Linked DNA regions of Homo sapiens: region 2 is linked to region 1. Evidence: promoter capture Hi-C in 16 types of primary human blood cells and fetal thymus (Javierre and others, 2016). All regions are on one chromosome and are shown on one strand. Each heading gives the region's core, a stretch centred on a gene start or on the middle of the fragment in contact. The rest is flanking DNA. Distances are from core to core; before and after follow the strand shown.

The links. The method cuts DNA at HindIII sites, captures the fragments that hold promoters and counts their contacts. A CHiCAGO score of 5 or more calls a contact.
Region 2: a fragment that was not itself captured here is called in contact with the fragment with the promoter of PIWIL2 in region 1 in 1 of 17 cell types (naive CD4 T cells); the score reaches 5.6 in naive CD4 T cells.

Annotation. Positions count from the first base shown.
Region 1 is chr8:22,269,853-22,276,816 of GRCh38, reverse strand. It overlaps PIWIL2 (piwi like RNA-mediated gene silencing 2), which reads right to left and starts at 1,501. Exons shown (of 23, transcript NM_018068.5): 1 at 1,419-1,501. PIWIL2-DT (PIWIL2 divergent transcript) reads left to right here and starts at 1,655. Exons shown (of 2, transcript NR_134293.1): 1 at 1,655-1,838. RefSeq lists enhancers at 576-1,221, 6,188-6,357. The HindIII fragment of the contact is 4,124 bases long and covers 1-2,219 here.
Region 2 is chr8:22,923,301-22,930,974 of GRCh38, reverse strand. It overlaps PEBP4 (phosphatidylethanolamine binding protein 4), which reads left to right and starts at 3,061. Exons shown (of 7, transcript NM_144962.3): 1 at 3,061-3,152; 2 at 3,255-3,391. The coding sequence starts at 3,261. The HindIII fragment of the contact is 9,707 bases long and covers 528-7,674 here.

The sequences.
Region 1 (6,964 bases), core at 252-2,751:
GTCCTCTTGTCTCAGCCTCCCAAGTAGCTAGGACTTCAGGCACCTGCCACCATACCCAGCTAATTTTTAAAAAAAATTTGTAGAGACGGGATCTTGCCATGTTGCCCAGGCTGGTCTCAAACTGCTGACCTCAAGTGATCCTCTCACCTCAGACTCCCCAAATGCTGGGAGAAGCCTCTTCTTAACTTTCAAAAAGCTGTCTTGGCCGGGGGTGGTGGCTCGCGCCTGTAATCCCAGCACTCTGGAAGGCCAAGGTGGGCAGATCACAAGGTCAGGGGTTCGAGACCAGCCTGACCAAAATGGTGAACCCTCATCTCTACTAAAAATACAAAAATTAGCTGGGCATGGTGGCCTGCGCCTGTAATCCCAGCTACTCGGGAGGCAGAGGCAGGAGAATCGCTTGAACCTGGGAGGCGGAGGTTGCAGTGAGCAGAGATCACGCCACTGCACTCCAGCCTGCGCTACGGAGCGAGACTCCGTCTCAAAACAAACAAACAAACAAACAAAAAAGCTGTCTTAAGTATTAGCTACAGAGAAATCATACATTTAAAGAAAATATTAACACACAATTCATAAACCCACAGCGTAAGTGCAGACAGTTCAGGAACTTGCAAAATTTATTGAACTAAACTATCCTCTTTCACACTCTAAACGCAGGATATGACTCCCTTTCTTGAAGGCTATATTTAACTGCTAACACCCCTTTTCGGTGAGCCAGGACTCTGCTCACACCTCCCCAACACCACCCAAAGAATCCCAAGCAATCAGTATGCTAACAGCTACATACTCAGAAGCGCTGGACGGCCTCCCTTAAGGGACATCTGGAATCTTCCTCTTTGTCCACGCTTCCCTCAACCTCCAGCACCACTTCTATAGATTCAGGTAGCTCCCCCAGAGGGCCCTCTCCCAGTGTGGGTTTCCCCCTGGGATCAGGTAGCAGATACTTGGCTGTCCGAAAGGTTCAATGGGGAGCGAACCCAGGACGGGCTGGGCCTGCCTCCCTCGCATCCCTGGGTGCGTGCTCCGCGCTGAGGCCTCGCGACTCGGGCCTAACCAGAAGCAAGGCCCCCGAAGGCGAGTCCCATCCCCTTTCCACCCCGAGAAAAGCACCTTTCCCCAAAGCCACAGCCCTGCCAGGGGTTCTATCTCCTCTCTCAGGCCAAATAAGACGTCCACTTGGGCCTCCGGAGGGCCTCCCCTGCCGCCCCAACCTGGACACCTTCTTGGGGCCGCGGCGCCGGGCCTCGAATAACGACTTCCCGCCCCCGCCCGACCCGCAACCCTCAGCAGCTCCCCGAAGTGGGAGGGGAGAGGCCCGGGAGGGCGGCTCACCCCACGTGCTTGAGCAAAAACCCAACCTGCCCGCCCCCGAGCGACCCTGGCCTGCCTGGCATGCCGCAACCGGGGCCAGTACTCACCTGTGCGCGAGTCCTCGCCCCAGTCGCCCAGCTCCGCGCGGCCTCAGGGGAAGACCGAGCTCAACCCACGCCCCGGGGCCCACATGCTCCAGGGCCAATTTCCGCTCTTCGAGGCCTCCGGGGATGAGCCCATTGGCCACAAGACCTGTCGTTCACAAGAGCAAGCTATCTAATTGGCCCATCTGCAAGAGAGGCTCGTCCTTTCCAGCAGGTTCCCTGTGCAGGGGCGGTTCGTGCGGAAGGAGCGCTGGGAGTTATGTGAACCTCAGCGTTAAAATGTGTTAGGGTTTGGAGATCCTGACTCCCTTTCTGGGGGCAACTCCTATAAACAGATTTAGCCTAAGACTCGCGTGTTGAAATTGACTTGCCCCATTCCTGCCAGTTAAGAGGATTAGCGATACAGGTGGTGAAAAAGAAACGGTAAGCTCGAGTGCGCATTCAAACACCTAATTCATATGATTTCTGCACATCACTTTCGTTATACATAAAACAGAGATAAAAACTAAAAACATCCATTCATAGGGTTGAATGGAAATGTACACACATAATGACATAACGTATGTAAAATACTTAGCACAAGGAGAAGACGACCCTCGATAAATGTTGCCTATTTTTATTGATGCCTAAATCTGTGAGCCAAGAAGAGCTTTCTAGGAAGCAGATTAAATTATCAGTGGTTACTTCAGCAACTACAGAATGATTTTACCCAAAGAAAGATTTCTGACCCTCTCCCAACCATTTTGTCAAATAACTGCATCCCTCTCCCACACCCAGGTTTTACAGTGTGGTTGAGGTAAAGCTTCTGAAGGCTTTGGCGGATGCTATAGAGACATCCAAGGGCTCTGCATGGAATAGGACTAGAGAAGGGTTAACCTTATTTTTTCCAGGCCTCAGATATCCCATGACTTATTTTAATCCACACATACAAGGGCCCTCCCTATCCTTCCCGAATGAGGATAGTCTGAAAATTATTGGAGCAGGATGATTTTCAACTCAGGAATCCAGTTGGCACGATGCCCCTTCACTGTTCCTAGATAGTATTTGTTTACCATGATCTAACATTTTCACTTCCTTTACCACACAACCTTCTTAACTTGCAGCTGTTGCAATGTTATGTTGTAAGCAATTCTCCTGCCTGTGCAAATACTTAATGGTAGCAAGTGCAGTCAAAAACAGTTATACAAACTGTTTTGTAACTTTCGTGAAGATCCAACTCCTTGTTCTTTTAGGAACTCCGACCAAACTTTGCATGACACACTTATTCTATACACATGAAACAATATTTTGGGGGCAGGATTCAGCAAATCTTCTAGTTGAAGTAAGGGAATAATAATCCTCAGATAATTTCCTGAGTATGTCTTCTATTTGGGAACCTAAACCAAGAGCACCATTACAAAGGGTATGCACATTGGGTTTCCTAGATTTCTATATCCTGTCCATCCATGCAAGTGTAGGTGGCCTTCGTACAGTATTTCTAGCTAATCCAGACATCATTAACACTACTTATTTAACCAAAGGAAAATCCATATAGTCCTGCTGTTGATTGGACATAAAAATGGTTGAAGCTTTCTGAAACGTGGACATCTATTTAGGACCTTTCAAAAGCTAATCAACCTCTTTTGGAGATTATATTCCCTAACAGAGTACTTTAATTGTTAATTAGCCATCCCTAGGATATTGATTAAAAAGGACACACATAATCTCATCACAAAAAGATGAGTATGTGAGGTGATGGATATGTTAATTTGGTTTAATCATTCCACAATGTAAATAAATATCAGAATATCATACTGTACCACATAACCATATGTAATTGCTATTTGTTAATTAAAAATGAAAGGGGCAAAAAGAGCACGTATATCACACTAAGAGATAGTATTTTGAGATAAATCACAGATTTTTTTTTTAACTCAAAAAAGTCGTAACACCAAATTCTGTCCACCTGGCCCTGCCAGTCTCTAAAATTCAGAGTGAAAATGGCCCCATAACTATACATAACCTGAATTTTCCTAGGCAGTCATGACTCCAAATACCCTGGGCACTTGGTCACCATAAATATTTCTATTCCAACCATGTATTCTGGTTTGTTGTTGTTGTTGTTGCTGCTGTTCAGAAAATAAGATCCCCAGAGCCACAGCAAGATTAAGGGCAGAAAATTACATTACTGGTGGGGCCTAAAACCTATAGGAAGGATTTCATTTAAAGTAGACCTATGTAGTATGTCTGGGTTCCTGGCAGAGATAACTAGAAATCCTTTCAGGAGAAATACACCAGGCTCCCAAAACTCCCACGTAAAAGGTATGAATAAATATGAGCTCACGAAACACATCAGGCCGAATAACAGGAGGACACACAATCTAATAAAAAAATGGGCAAAAGGTATGGTGGCTCACATCTGTAATCCCAGCACTTTAGGAGGCCAATGTGGGCAGATGGCCTGAGGTCAGGAGTTCGAGACCAGCCTGGCCAACATGGTGAAATGCTGTCTCTACTAAAAACATAAAAATTAGCCAGGCATGTTGGTGTGGTGCCTGTAATCCCAGCTACTCGTGAGGCTGAGGCAGGAGAATCACTTGAACCCGGGAGGCGGAGGTTACAGTGAGCTGAGATCACGCCACTGCACTCCAGCCTGGGCAACAAGTGCAAAACTCTCTCTCAAAAAAAAAGGGGGGGGGGCCAAAAGATGTGAGTGGACCTGTGTCAGTCCATTAGTCCCTTTAGTGTTACTATAAAGGAATACCTGAGGCTGGGTAATTTATAAAGAAAAGAGGTTTATCGAGCTCATGGTTATGCTGGCTGGAAGGTTCAAGACTGGACACCTGGTGAGGACCTCAGGGTGCTTCCACTCATGGCAGAAGGCAAAGAGACCCGGCCTGTGCAGAGATTACATGGAGAGAGAGGAAGCAAGAGAGGGGAGGGAAGCGCTAGGTTCTTTTTAACAACCAGCTCTTGTTGGAACTAATAAGCCCTTTAGTAGAGACAGGGTTTCACCATATTGCCCAGGCTGGTCTTGAACTCAGTGGCTTATGGGTGTGAGCCACCACCCCTGACTGGAGCCGTAAAATTTAATGGAATTTGTCCTTCAGTATCTGCAGAGTATTGGTTTTTAGGACCTCCCTCCATGGATACCAAAATTCACAGATGCTCAAGTCTCTTATATAAAATGGTGTATTTTATATTTGCATATAACCTATGCACATTTCCCTGTATACTTTAAATTGTCTCTAGATGAATTATAATACCAAATACAGTGTAAATGCTACATAAATAGTTGTTACACTGTATTGTTTAGGGAATAATTACAAGAAAAAAGTCTGCACCTGTTCAGTACTGATGCAGCCATCCTTTTTGTTTTTTCCAAATATTTTTGATTTGTGGTTGGTTTAATCCATGGATGCAGAACCCGTGGATAGGGAGGGCCTATTGTATTTAGATGAGATCTTAGACTTGCAATTGATACTGAAACGGTGTAAGACTTTGGGGGCTGTTAGGATGGGGCGAATGTGTTGCATGTGAGAAGAACATGAATTTGCGGGGGACAGAGGGAGGAATGTTAGGGAGTGAATTGTGTCCTCCTTGCAAAACCTATGTTGAAGCCCTAATCCCCTGTATTTGGAGATAAAGTATGTAGGGAGATAATTAACATAAATGAGGTAAGGAGGAGCTCTAATCTGATAGGATTTGTGTCCTTATCAGAAGAGAAAGACATGAGATCTTTCTCTATCTCTATCCCTCTCTCTTCATGGAAGCACAGAGACAAGGCCATGTGAGGACACAGCAAGATGGCGGCCATCTATAAACTAGGGAGATGGTACTCACCAGAAATCAAATTTGCCAGCACCTTGATCATAGAATCATAGTCTCCAGAGCTGTGAGAAAACAAATGTGTGTTGCTGAGGCCACCCAGTCTGTGGCAATTTGTTATGGCAGGCCTGTCTGACTAATAGAATAACAGAAGTCAGCAAGGATGTGGTGGAACAGGAACCCTCAGACATTGCCAGTGGGAATGTAAAATGATGCAGCCTCTTTGGGAAACATTTGGCAGTTTCTCAAAAAGTTAAGAAAAAAATTACTGTAGGAACCAAAATTTCACTTCTTGGTAGCTACCTAAGAAAAATGAAAACATGTCCACACAAAACTTGCATGCAAATGTTCATAGCAGCATTATTGATAATTGCCAAAAACTTCACCTAAATGTCCATCAACTGGTAAATGAATAAACAGAAATTTGTATGCTTAACAATGGGGATGCGTTAAAAAAAAAAAGGAGGCCGGGCACGGTGGCTCATGCCTGTAATCCCGGCCGGGTGCGGTGGCTCATGCCTGTAATCCCTGCACTTTGGGAGGCCAAGGCGGGTGGATCGCCTGAGGTCAGGAGTTCGAAAGCAGCCTGGCCAACATGATGAAAACCCATCTCTACTAAAAATACAAAAAATTAGCTGGGTGTGGTGGCAGGCGCCTGTAATCCCAGCTACTCAGGAGGCTGAGCTAGGAGAATCGCTTGAACCCAGGGGGCAGAGGTTGCAGTGAGCCAAGATCGCGCCACTGCACTCCAGCCTGGGCAACAAGAGCAAAACTCTGTCTCAAAAAAAAAAAAAAAAAAAAAAGGAATAAAGATGTGGTATATATTCACACAATGGATGGATTCATCAATAAGAAGGAACAAACTGCTATGGCATGGATGAACCCCAAAAAATATGTTAAATGAAAGAAACCAGACATAAGAGACCACATATTGTATGATTCCATTTATGTGAAATGTCTAGAAAACATAAATCTATAGAGACAGAATGTAAACTAATGGTTGCCTGGGGCTGGGGTGGGAATTAGGATGAACTGTAAATGTGCATGAGGGCTTTTATTAGGGTGACAAAAATGTTCAAAAACTGACTTATGGCAATGTTTGCACCACTCATTAAATTTACCAAAAATTATTCAATAGGATAAATTATATGATATGATATGTAAAATATATCTTTTTTTTCTTTTTCTTTTTTTTGAGACGGAGTCTAGTTCTGTTGCCCAAGCTGGAGTACAATGGTACGATCTTGGCTCACTGCAACCTCTGCCTCCCGGGTTCAAGCAATTCTCCTGCCTCAGCCTCCTGAGTACCTGGGATTACAGGCTCCCGCCACGACGCCCAACTAATTTTTGTATTTTTAGTAGAGACGGGGTTTCACTGTGTTGGCCAGGCTGGTCTCGAACTCCTAACCTCATGATCCACCCGCCTCGGCCTCCAAAAGTGCTGGGATTAAAGCATGAGCCACCACGCCCAGCCTAAAATATATCTTAATAGAGGCATTTTTAAAAAAACGCACATTAAAAAATAAGCAGAGCACTTTGGGAGGCTGCAGTGGGTAGATCTCTTGAGGTCAGGATTTCGACACTAGCCTGGCCAACATGGTGAAACCCCATCTCTACTAAAAATACAAAAATTAGCCAGGCATGGTGGCACACGCCTGTAATCCCAGCTACTTGGGAGGCTGAGGCAGGAGAATCACTTGAACCTGGGAGGCGGAGGTTGTAGTGACTGAGATCATGCCACT
Region 2 (7,674 bases), core at 4,132-6,631, 650 kb before region 1:
AGGAAGCCACAGGTTTGGCTTGAATGGTGGTGTCTGGAGGTGGTCCCAGCCCAGGTAACTGAAGGAAGAGAGGGGGACTTCAAGGGTGGGCACCAAGAAATCTAGCAATGGGACTTTCCAGGAGCCGGGGTGGTGATGGGGAGGGAGAATTGTCACTCCGCAAGCTTGAACACGGCTTTCAGATCTTAGGTTTCAAGTATGAATCAAAGTCCTGAAAATCCCCAAGAGAAAGATCAGGTTTGAAAAATCCCGAGAACCACTGCATTCTGCCAGATCTCTCTGCACAAAAACAAGCCAGAGAAGGTTAGATAAATAAGCAAAAGGCATCCAGGGCTAAGGGCCAACCTGAGTGATTAGTTTCCTACTGATGTTTGTACAGAGTTAAGACCTGTTAAGTGAAAATGAGGATGATCAGAAACGGAAGTGGCGTGTGTCATGCACTTAAACAAGAATTTTATTAAGCTTCTATATACTCCATGTAAGATGCTCAGAATGCTGGACAGTCTCCGTGCTGCCTCCGAGAAGCTTATAGGCTGGGGGGATGAGGAGATACTATCACTAAGCAAATAACTATAAAATAATTTATTACAACTATATGAGAATAATGAAGAAAGCAGTAAAGTGCTCTAATTGTTTATAACAGGAATCTGATGGACCCTAGGGGAAAGAGCAAGTTTCTCTTAGGAAACGACATTTCAGCTACCCCCCTAATGAAGGTGGGAAGCAGGGTCAGTGCCTATCACAGCCCTGGCATAGAAAGGAGCTTGAGGAACCCGCCAGAGGTAACATGTGAGAGGAAGAGGAAGTCAGCTAGAGAGACAGGAAAAGCCTGATCTCGCAGGGTATTGTGGTCCACGTGAAGGACTCTGGGTCCTTCTCCCAAGAGCAAAGGGAATGTAGAGGGAGTGAGTGAGAGGCAATGGAGCAGCTACAGAGTGCAGTGGAGCCAGGTGGTTAAGAGCGTGGACTCTGGGCTGGGCGCGGTGGCTCACGCCTGTAATCCCAGCACTTTGGGAGCACACAGGTGGATTACTTGAGCCCAGGAGTTCGAGACCAGCCTGGGCAACAATGCAAGACCCCGTCTCTACAAAAAATACAAAAATTAGCCAGAGCCGTGGTGTGCCTGTACTCCCAGCTACTTGAGAGGCTGTGGCAGGAGAATCCCTTGAAGCCCAGAAGGCGGAGGTTGCAGGAGCCAGCATCACCCCATTGCACTCCAGCCTGGGCGATGAGAGTGAGACCCTGTCTCAAAACAAAGCATGGACTCAATGGACTCAACCCAGTTTCCACAGGTTCAACCAGAGCCTGGGGTTCAAATTCCAGGTCTGCCACTTCTTGGTGACCAAGATCAGGTTTTAACTAATGTCACTGTGCTGTCTCCTCCTCCATAAGATGGGGTGATAATAGTGCCTATTTCCAAGGATTGGCATGAGGATTCGGAGATAAAAGTGCCTGGCACGTGGAGTAAGGAAGAACCGCCACTGGAAGTGGGCTCAACAGCAGCAACCTGCACTGTGGGCTCTCCCTTCTTCCAGGCCGCCATCACTGTGCTAAAGGAGTTGACACCCAGAAAAGTTGAGACTTCTCTAGTGGATGCCATTTGGAAGATGAGTTTCTTGGTCTTGGGCAGCCCTTCTGGCAGCATCTCCTTGGCTGTGGCTGTCCTGTGAGCTGCATGCTCAACCTATACCCCAGGGCCCAACATGGGGCAGGCACGTGGGAGGTGCTTAATGCCTATGAGTGAAGTGGGTTGCAAAGGAATGAATGAATGGATGGATCCGTGAGAGAATACTTAGACTATTCATAAATTATTGAGCATTTACTATGTGCCAGGCACCTTACTGAGGGCTTAACCTGGTTGATTTCATTCTCATAATGATCTTGTGAGGAGGCTACTATTAGACTCTGTCCACTAGGGGAGATCTTGGGAATATGTTTTCTGGTTGGGGCAAGGGGGAGTCCTGGTTGTACTTCAGAGAACCTAATGATTGAGAAATGTGTTTAATATGTAGCCCCTAAGGGGGGCTTTTTGCTACAGGTTGGGATCCTGGAGGCAGGAATTGAGCCAGAAAGCAGACTATGCTGAAAGTAGTTTCTCTAAAGGTCTAGCTGCGTGTACTTTACAGCGATGATCTCATATTCCTTAGCAAGGCACCACGGTGACAGGAATTATTTTACTTGTTTGTGAAAAGGAAAAGTGGTGCATTCTAGGGAGACACAGTGGCCTCCCAGCATCCAGAGAGAGCTCAGAGCAGAAGCCAGGAGTCCTGAGTTGCTGGCACGTCTCTCCCACCCCCGCCTCTGAGAAGCAGAGAGCAGAGCTATTGGAAAGCCTGTTGCAAGCCGCCTTTATTCTTCTCCCTGCCCACTCAGGCTCAAACCAGAGTCCCACATGCACCTGGTGGCAGGACTGTTCCCCAAGGGAATGCAGGCGACAGTCCCCGGCTCCCCTTCCTCCCAGTGCACTGCTGGGGCAGGCCACCCCTTTCTGAGCCCCAAGCAGCTCCCCAGACCTCCTTCTCCAGATACGATTATTTTGGGAGAGTGCTGAGTGCAGCACAGCTGCAAGGTGCACCCAGACGCACCCTTCTGTCCTCAGCTGGCCCTTCGGAGCTGGCCCTTCGGAGCTGGCCTCGGTCTGGGGTGCACCTACCCCCACCCCCTGCAGCAGTCCCTCCTACACAAGGTCACTGTGTCCAACCACCTCCACCTTGGGGAAGCTCACAGGCTGTGGAGACAGGTGGTGGAAGAATGGGGGCCAGGAGAGTCAGAGCCGGTCTGAGGGGCACAGCCCAACTCCTAGCCCTGAGCCTGGGGTCACCAGCTTCCCAGGGCTTGCCTTACAGCCAAGGAGCAGGCTGGCCTTTGGCCAGCTGACCATCCCTGGGCCAACAGCAGGGACTGGACAAGGAGCTGCACCGAGGAGCTTATATAAGCACTTCTACTTTGCAGCCTGCTCTCTGCCCTGGCAGCCAGGACAAGAGTGACAACAAAGCTGTGTCCTGCCAGGGGAGGGGCCTCTGCCAGGAACGTACATTGAGTCCAACTTGGAAGAGGCCCAGTCCTCCCAAAGTACTTGTGTCCGGGTGGTGGACTGGATTAGCTGCGGAGCCCTGGAAGCTGCCTGTCCTTCTCCCTGTGCTTAACCAGAGGTCTCTATCCTGCCAAGTGGGCCCCTGGGGTCGGGGGCACAGGTAGTGGGCAGGAAGGCCCCTGCAGGGGATCCAGCCGCTCTAAAGTTCTTTCTGTTCCAGGTGCCCATGGGTTGGACAATGAGGCTGGTCACAGCAGCACTGTTACTGGGTCTCATGATGGTGGTCACTGGAGACGAGGATGAGAACAGCCCGTGTGCCCATGAGGCCCTCTTGGACGAGGACACCCTCTTTTGCCAGTAAGTCAGGGCAGGCTTGGAGGCGGGAGGCACAGAGGCTACCAGGCAGGTAGATGGCAGGGAGGGGTATATCCAGAACCAAGAAGCACCATCTCCTGAGCCTGATTTTATGGGAAGGCAGAACACGTGTCAGATCTGGAGACCACCTTGATGGAGGATGGCACTGAGAAAGGGATTTAGAAACAGACTCCTTCCTGCCTTCCAGAATGCACCTCTCCCAGGACCAGGAGGGCTGTGTATGTGGTCGGCTCTGCTTGGGCCCTCCAAACCTGGGGGGTCTTTGTGGGGGCAGGAGGCTGAGACCCTCAGAGAGAGACCCAGAGAGAGACCATCCCTCCCTGCAGCCTGAATGCCCCCTCTCCCCAGAACCCCAACAAAGAGGCATTTGAATGAAAGAAGGTGTATGATTAGACCCTTCCTGTGTGAGAGGTTTTTGTCAGTGATAGGACCCAGGAGCGTTTGTGCAGGGCCCTTTAGGGATCATGGCACTGGATGGAGTTGGGTGACGAGGCTGGCTTCTTCCCTTCCAAGGGCACAAGCTGCTTCTACTTTGGGTAAGCTGGAAAGCCTGGCGTTCGGCTCTCTCCTCACCAACTCTGCCGGTTAGAAAAGCAAGCCTTCATTTGTGTGGACTTGTGGGTCATCCTGAGGACTCCCCAGGCCAAACTGATGCCAAACCTCCCTGCCAGTTTGGTGGCTGAGGAGGGGGACACCCCACTGAGCCCACGTGTGAGAAATGAGAGAGGAGGAAAAAGAACTTTGACTACTTACTCTCTTCTGTACCTTTGAATTTTCACAAACATTACTGTTCATGAAAATGTTTGTTTTTCTTTTTAATTTTATTTAAAACATTTTTGACAAACATTACTTTTAGAACCATAAATACATGTCTTCTCTTAAAATTATGTAGTTGAATCCTTCTTAAAAAGTAACATTTTTGTTGGGTGAAGTGGCTCACATGTGTAATCCCAGCACTTTGGGAGGCCAAGGTGGAGGATCACTTGAGCCCAGGGGTTTGAGACCAGCCTGGGCAACATAGAGAGACTCTTTTCTCTACAAAACAGTTTAAAAACTAGCCAAGCATGCTGATGCACACCTGTCGTCCCAGCTACTCAAGAGGTTGAGGTGGGAGGATCGCTTAAACCCAGGAGGTCAAGGCTGGTCTGAGCCATGATTGCGCCACTGCATTCCAGCCTGGGCAACAGAGCCAGACCCTGCCTAAACAACAACAACAACAACAACAAAAAGTAACAAACTTTGTTCGTGTCAGTATATTTTGAAAAATCTTGTTAAATAGTTCTGGGTGTAGGCTGGGCACGGTGGCTCACACCTGTAATCCCAAGACTTTGGGAGACTGAGGCAGGCAGATAACAAGGTCAGGAGTTTGAGACCAGCCTGACCAACACGGTGAAACCCTGTCTCTACTAAAAATAAAAAAAAATTAGCCGGGCATGGTGGCGCACACCTGTAATCCCAGCTACTCAGGAGGCTGAGGCAGGAGAATCCCTTGAATCTGGGAGGTGGAGGTTGCAGTGAGCCGAGATTGCGCCACTGCACTCTAGCCTGGGCGACAGACCAAGACTCTGTCTCAAAAAACAAACAAAAAAACAAACAAGCAAGAAAACAGTTCTGGGTGAAGTTTTCACGTGGAAGGAGGAAGAGAAACGTGGTTGCCTCTCACAAGTGGGATCTAATTTTCTAGGTGCTCTGCTGAGTGAGCTGAGGGGCTGGCAGGCTTCTCGCTCTGAGCAGTGCAAGGTCAACACCCCCGTAACCAGGAGAGGTCAGCTGGGCCAGGGTACAGCAGGCCTGGGCCACAATAAGGGCCCCTTAAGGAGGACCTCAGCAGTTCCTGGTGTTTCCCACACTGTGGGAAATGAGGATGTCTGTAGGGTCATTGGGGGTGACCAGCCTGAGGCTCCAGATGCCCTAGGCTCTGCCCTGCCAAGATCACATGTTGGTGCCCTGGTGACCCATGCATGGGGACACACGTGGGAAGTCCCAGGGCACCTTCTGTGTGCCAGGTGCTCTGCCGGTGCCTGGACTCCTTGACTCCTTTCACTGTCAGTAACGAACCTACAAAGTCTGTGTTAGCACCCCCATTCTGCAGATGAAGAATCCCCAGAGATTAAGAAATCTGCCCACAGTGTTTACATAGCTTAAAAGTAGCAGAGCCAAGATCTAGCCCCCTTGTCTGACTCCACACTCACGCTCTTTCCCTATCTGCTTCTGACAACCTTCACCCCAGGTTCAGGGCTCCCAGACTCGAGTCAAGGGGGCCCATTCTCAGGACTCCCAGAATACACCAGCAGGCCCCCAGTCTGAGAAAGAGACTTATGACCTTAAGGTTGCATGCCAGGAAGATGTCTTTTGATTTCAAGCCATCATCGCAAAAGAGGAGCTTTGTCTTTATTGTCACTGAAGATTTTTGTTTGGAAGAGAGCATCATGAATGATGATGAAATGAAAAATGCATCAAGGACAGATCGGACCCCTGAGGAGACAGCAGGACCTCCTGCACTGACCCCTCCTCAAGATCCCCACTCGGCTCAGGCTCTGACCTTGGCAAGAGATCCCCCAGAGAAGGCACTCCTCTTGTGGGCATTTGGTCTACCAGGGAACTCTTAAAGATTGGACTCAATGCCTAAAGGTATTAATCTATAAGGGAGGAATTTTATGTACTGTGACAAGCTGTGAGACATTGTTAAGAGTAACGCTTCTCGGGAATCAGACCTTCCCTGCTTCTGAGATACCCCAGACAAGACCAGCAAAACCACCGACGGTCCCAACCCTGGGCTCAGTCGCAGAATGGAAAGAACCATGATTCTCCAAACCTGCAGCCAGGAGGTGAATCCACTCAAAAAACCCCACCTGCTGCTGCCATCCAGTCAGCCCTGCAAGCTCCCCTAGGGATGGGAGCTGCTGCTCAAAGCGTCCTGCTTTTTGGTGTTGAAAAGCTCCGTTCTTCAGAAAGTACATTCTTACCCCGAGGCCCTGCTGCTCTTCTTGAACACCAACCCTACCTGTTGTAGTGCGGATCCACGAGGTGCACAAACTAGTCTAGTTTCTCATCTTCTTTGTGGTCATTCATGTGTGTGGTGACAGGTGCCATGCCCTGCCCTGCCCCTTCATCCCCAGCTCCCCCCAACCTGGGCAGTCATCCCCAGTCCTTCAACCTCTCTCAGGGGCCTTGGTCTCTCCTGTTTAAATACATTTCTTTTAGAGACAGAGTCTTGTCTGTCACTTAGGCTGGAGTGCAGTGGCCTGATCATAGCTCACTGCAGCCTTGAACACCTGGGCTCAAGCAATCCTCCTGCCTCAACGTCCTGAGTAGCTGGGACTACAGGTGCACGCCACCACACCTGGCTAAGTTTCTTATTTTTTGTAGAGTTGGGAGTCTCGGTATGTAGTCCAGGCTGTTCTCAAACTCCTGGGCTCAAGCAATCCTGCTGCCTCAGCCTCCCAAAGTGCCGGTATTACAGGCATGCACTGCCATACCTGGCTTGCTGTTTTTCAAGTGGGGTGACCCACACTTTCACAGTGAGCCCCCTCTTCGAGGCAGCCTCATATCCCATGTGTCTTTTTGTCATCCTCACTGTCTTAGTCTGTTCAGCTACCATAACAAAATACCTTAGACTAGGTCATTTCTAAACAGCAGGAATGTATTACTCACAACTCTGGAGGCTGAGAAGCGCCAAAATCAAGGTGCTAGTGGATTCAGTGTGCGGTACAAGGTTGCTCTCTGCTTCAAAGATGGCACCTTCTTGCTGCGACTTCACATGGGGGAAGGGAAGGGCAGCTCCCTTCAGCCTCTCTTATGAGGGTGCCTTTTATAAGGGTGACTTAATCACCTCTTCCAAGTCCCGCTTGTTAATACCATCATATTGAGGATTAAATTCCAACATATAAATTTTGAGGAGACACAAACACTCAGACCATAGCACTCACTGAGGGGCAGCTGAAATTCTAAGCCCTTCATACAGGCACAGCTGAGAAGCCACGTTTCTAGAGACAGGGTCTCAGTGCATCACCCTCTGTCACCCAGGCTGGAATGTAGAAGCAGGATCATGGCTCACTGCAACCTTGACCTCCCAGACTCAAGCGATCCTCCCACCTCAGCCTCCCATATAGCTGGACTACAGATGCGTACCACCACACTTGGCTAATTTTTTCTATGTTTTATAGAGACAGGATCTCACTACGTTGCCCAGGCTGGCCTCTAACTCCTGGGCTCAAGTGATCATCTCACCTCAGCCTCCCAAAGTGCTGGGATTACAGGCTTGA